2 separate regions of the Homo sapiens genome follow, and region 2 is linked to region 1. Evidence: promoter capture Hi-C in human tissues and cell types (Jung and others, 2019). All regions are on one chromosome and are shown on one strand. The core of a region is centred on a gene start or on the middle of the fragment in contact, and the rest is flanking DNA. Distances in the headings are between cores, read along the strand shown.

Region 1 (2,700 bases), core at 120-2,619:
TGTTGACCCCGGGTTGGAGCATGGCCCCGAACTGGCGCTGCATGAAGCCGGCCTGGCCCAGGCGCACCTCGGCCTCCGGGAGGATCTGGTCGCCGGCAGCCGCGCCTCCCTCCACTTTGATAGCGGTGTCCACCGAGGGCTGCTCGCAGGAGGCGGAGGCCGGCTGCGGTGGCTGCTGGGGCGGCGGCGGCGAGGCTGCGGGCTGCGCCGAGGCGCCGGGGCGCTCGGGCTCGGCCGCCAGGCCTGGGGGCGTCCTGTCCTCGCCGGGGGACGCGTCGCCCTCGGCGATGAGCCGCCGCTCCTCCGCGGAGTCATGCAGGTGTCCGTGACTGCTGCCGCTCCCCGTGCCGCCGCTGCCGCCGCCCCGGCTGCCCAGCGAGGCCAGGCTCCCGCGGAAGCGCCTGCAGTCGCCGTTCGTGCTGGACTTGCCCGCGCCGCGGGCCGGCCCTTCGCTGTCCGCTGCCCCGAGGGCCGAGCTCCGGGACTCCGTGCCACCCGCGGCCGCCGAGGGGGAGGGCGAGGGCAGTGGCCGCAGCCGGATGCTCCTGCGGCTGGGGTCTTGGCGGCCCCCGGCCCCCTCCTCCTCGGCGTCCTCTTCCTCGTCCATGATCCACGCCTTGGCCCCCACCTGCTGCGGGAGGCTGTAGAGCCGCTTGCGCATGGACGGCGGCAGCTTGTCCATGGCGCCAGGGGCCGGGGTCGGACCGGGCCGGGGGCAGGAGCGCGGCGCCGCGGACGGGCTCCAGGTCCGCCCGCCGGTCAGTCCGCCCGTGGGGACGCGTCCTTTGCCGCCGGCGTGGGGGCAGCCTCAGGCGCCCATGCTTGGGCAGGCTGCGCGCCGCGGGGAGGATCCTAGTCCCGCTCCGAGTCCCCGGGCTCGCCGCGCTACACCTCCTCCCGGGCCCGGCTGGGCGCGGGGACCCCGCGCTCCCTTCTTGCCTCCCTCCCTCCCTCTGGCGTTCAGGGGCGCGGCGCGCCGCCCGGCTCCAGGCGCCCCGCCCCCGCGGGGAACAATGGGCGCCGGCCGGAGAGGCTCTGCGGCCGCGGCGCTCAGGGAACCGCTCCGGAGTGCAGAGCGCACGGCCCGCGCGGGTCCCGGGCGTGCGTCCCGCGGGAGGGCTGGCTGTCCGTCTGTCTCGCCGCCCGGGCTTTGTGGCTGGCCACCCGCGAGCTCGCCTCGCCTCCTCTGCCCCGGCCCGTCCGGCCCGTCCCGGGGCTCCCGCCGCAACCGAGCGGAGCCCAGCGACCCGCCGGGCTTACATCAGCGGCCGCCTCCCCCGAAGCGCCCTCCGGCAGCGCTCGGGCTCCCGCGCCCCGGAATATTCATGAAGCCGCCGCAGCTCGCGGGTTGCCATAGGAGCGGCTCCAGCAGCCGGGCCTGCCTACCTGGGCTTCTTAAAGGGGCAGCGGCGCACGGGCCGGGGGCTGGAAAGGGGCGGGGGGCGGGCCTGGCAAGGGGCCCAGGTTAGACCCTCGCTAGACCTTCGGGGCCGGGGTGAGAGGTATCCACACTGCTGCGCCCTTAAATCTCTTTCCTGGGCTAAGCTGGGAGTGCGCCCCAAGTCTGAAGCTCCGGCTTCAGTTGCGAATTCCCCATCCTAAGATTGAAGGGTGGGGGGTGGCTTCCCAATTTCTCCATCACCAAGCTCTGGGCTCGCCTTTCCCTGGCATTTTTGCCCCTCAGCTGGGTCTCCGACTTTCCTCTTGGGAGGCGACCGGGTTCGTCTGGATGCAGAGTCCCGGCCTTCCCGCAACCCTCCTGGAGAGGGGGCTTCCGGAAATGCGCCGCGTCGGGGAGGCTCCCACGGTTTTCCTGTGACATGGGCAGGGTGCGAACCCCGCGCCAGTCTTTCCCCTGCAAAGCCTCGCAGCAGCCAGGCAAGGAGGGCGTGGGGAAACAGGGAGACACGCACAGGGCGCGCGGGTGGGACCCAGCCCTTCGAGGTAAGACTTCGAGGAAATGCGCCGGCAACAGTGACGGATGCGAGATCCGAACGCCGACCTCCGCACGCGCCTCTCCCTCGGTAGTTCCGAGAAAGGGACAAGCCGGCTGCAGCGGGGAGCGGTTGGGCCGGTTCCTCGGACGCCCCAGCACTCTGGAACTGGCTTTGGAGCCCCTTCTCCCTGTGTTCCCATCCACATTATGACACCTACTATGTGGACCCACGCTGGGTGAGTTCCTGTTCCACCCAGTCCCCTACCTGCACCCCCAAGCAGCTGCACAGCCCCCACTCCCTTCCAGTCTGCAGCCCAGCCCCCTTCCCCCCAACCCCCGCCAAGGATCCAACTGTGTGTCCTCTCTCCCAGTCTCTCCCAGTGTACAGTGTCCGGGCTTATGGACAGATTTCACTAGCTCAGCCTAAGGTATAGCCCTACCCCCTCCAACACCATGGACAGCCTGATACCCCAGATTAGCTCAGAAATGGATAGGGGGACAGATTGGGCATTAAGGGGAGGGGAGTTGTCCAGAGAAGGCTGGAGCCGAGGTTAATGCTGGAGCGGACACACAGCAAAGTCTCACAGGAGGGAGGCAAAAAGGTCCCCTGGCTCTGCCATCTCTCTGAGGAATAACATCAAGTTTTTCTTCAAATGATTTTTTTACTCTCATTCTTAGCCCAATGTGACCACTTTCGCCTCCTCCATCCAGAGTAGGAATTTGGAGAGCAGGATGCGGGGCGGGCAGCCTAGCAGGGGCTCTTC
Region 2 (2,700 bases), core at 183-2,682, 160 kb after region 1:
CTTAATTATTAGCTTAACCTAACAACTGGTTATGATTATTGAAAATTTAATTTTTGCCTGGGTGTGGTGGCTTATGCCTATAATCCCATCACTTTGGGAGGCCCAGGCTGGAAGATTGCTTGCGACCAGCCCGTACAACATAGCGAGACCCCATCTCTACAAAAAAATTTAAAATTAGCTGGGCATGGTGGTGCATGCCTATGGTCCCAGCTATTCAGGAGGCTGAGGTGGGAGGACTGCTTGAGCCCAGGAGATCAAGGCTGCAGTGAGTTATCATCGTACCACTGCACTCCATCCTTGGCAACAGAGCAAAACTCTGTCTCCAGAAAAAAGAAAATGTAATTTTAGAAATCCCAATCTTTTGCTTTGTTTTCCCTCTTCACATCGTTGTCTTCATATTTGTAGCAATTCTCTTATCATGGATTTTTTTTTTTCTGTTTTCAGTGAAATTTGATCCTCACAAACTGAGCTCCAGGATAGTGAGTCAGAAACACAACCCTGAAGCTTAAGCCAGGGTCTAATTTTTAAATAAATCACCTGGCACCAAAACACCTTCTCACATTCATCAAGAAGCGCTTTTGGTGTTCTGGGCCTGGGGACGAGGTGCACTGTGAAATGATCAGTCATCCAGTTACTTTTGTAACCTGATTCTCCTATGCTGTTTTCCTCTGAATCAGGGTTTTAACAGCAGGTGTGAACATTTAGAATTGTCATTTTCATAAAAATAAAATGCTGTTTTCTTCAAAGCATTTACAAAATCATAATGGGAAGATTTTAAAGCTAATTTACCTAGCTAAATGCCAGTGACACCCCATGATATTCTCCTGGCTTCCTTGCCCAAACTGGTAGGTGAAGTCAGAACTGAGGGGTGTCTGAGGTACTAATGGAACTAGCTCAATGGCAGAGTCAACAGCAAGGGAAACAGACTCAGTAGGGTTAAGGGCACAGGTAGTTTTTCCCACCATCTTTGGACTTCAGATTGTGTACATCTTATCTGTGCATCCATTTTCTTAGGTACTTTTCTCCCTTTCGTTGATGGCTTCCTTTTTATCTCTATGGCAAGTCTTCATTATGTATGATAGCAGGGGCCACGGAGTGCATGGATGACCACAATTTAGAAACGCACTTCATAATTTATAATGCATGAAAAGCAAAGCTTGAGATTCTCTTTATATGAAGTGTAGTGTGGCGCCCCATCTTGGTGGCATTCTGGCCACTGCCCCTCAGGCTGTGCCAGAACTGGGCAAATTAAGGGATGGGTCAAAGTGTGTTAGGAGGAAATGGGGGTGTCAACCATGTGCCAGAAATTGGCCCTCTTTCATTCAACAGACATGCTGGGCACAAAGATGAATGTACCCCAGTTCTTGATCTCATGAAGTTTGCAGTGAGGTGTAGGGGCTACAAAAAGAAGACAGGGTAGAAGCAACAGCCAGCCATTGCAGGGCACAGCACCTCCTGCTGCTAGACTCCATGCAGATTTGACAGCCCTTATTTCTACTCCATCCCTGTGCATCACCTGACACCATTGACAAGTTTCTCTGCTGGAAACTCTCACCCCTCTTAGCTTCCACATTACTCTGTCCTGGACATTAATTCTTGGTATTGGCTCTTGTTCTTTTGTCTGATGGTAAATTAGCATTTCCTAGAGTTCTCCACTCTTTTTTTTTTTTTTTTAATACTTTAAGTTTTAGGGTACATGTGCACATTGTGCAGGTTAGTTACATATGTATACATGTGCCATGCTGGTGAGCTGCACCCACTAACTCGTCATCTAGCATTAGGTATATCTCCCGATGCTATCCCTCCCCCCTCGCCCCACCCCACAACAGTCCCCAGAGTGTGATATTCCCCTTCCTGTGTCCATGTGATCTTATTGTTCAGTTCCCACCTATGAGTGAGAATATGCGGTGTTTGGTTTTTTGTTCTTGCGATAGTTTACTGAGAATGATGATTTCCAATTTCATCCATGTCCCTACAAAGGACATGAACTCATCATTTTTTATGGCTGCATAGTATTCCATGGTGTATATGTGCCACATTTTCTTAATCCAATCTATCATTGTTGGACATTTGGGTTGGTTCCAAGTCTTTGCTATTGTGAATAGTGCCACAGTAAACATACGTGTGCATGTGTCTTTATAGCAGCATGATTTATAGTCCTTTGGGTATATACCCAGTAATGGGATGGCTGGGTCAAATGGTATTTCCAGTTCTAGATCCCTGAGGAATCGCCACACTGACTTCCACAATGGTTGAACTAGTTTACAGTCCCACCAACAGTGTAAAAGTGTTCCTATTTCTCCACATCCTCTCCAGCACTAGCAAGGCAGGCCAACGTTCAGATTCAGGAAATACAGAGAATGCCACAAAGATACTCCTCGAGAAGAGCAACTCCAAGGCACATAATTGTCAGATTCACCAAAGTTGAAATAAAGGAAAAAATGTTAAGGGCAGCCAGAGAGAAAGGTCGGGTTACCCTCAAAGGGAAGCCCATCAGACTAACAGCGGATCTCTCGGCAGAAACCCTACAAGCCAGAAGAGAGTGGGGGCCAATATTCAACATTCTTAAAGAAAAGAATTTTCAACCCAGAATTTCATATCCAGCCAAACTAAGCTTCATAAGTGAAGGAGAAATTAAATACTTTACAGACAAGCAAATGCTGAGAGATTTTGTCACCACCAGGCCTGCCTTACAAGAGC

The links. Contacts are between HindIII fragments. The study calls those that stand out against the background at their distance.
Region 2: a fragment that was not itself captured here is called in contact with the fragment with the promoter of HCN4 in region 1 in 1 of the 25 tissues and cell types used here (heart left ventricle).

The regions. Positions count from the first base shown.
Region 1 is chr15:73,367,589-73,370,288 of GRCh38, forward strand. HCN4 (hyperpolarization activated cyclic nucleotide gated potassium channel 4) reads right to left here and starts at 1,370. Exons shown (of 8, transcript NM_005477.3): 1 at 1-1,370. The coding sequence starts at 682. The HindIII fragment of the contact is 7,967 bases long and covers 1-2,700 here.
Region 2 is chr15:73,530,325-73,533,024 of GRCh38, forward strand. All of the region lies in intron 2 of REC114 (REC114 meiotic recombination protein), which reads left to right. Among named protein-coding and RNA genes, the nearest start is that of NPTN-IT1, 38 kb to the right of the region's middle. The HindIII fragment of the contact is 4,245 bases long and covers 1-2,700 here.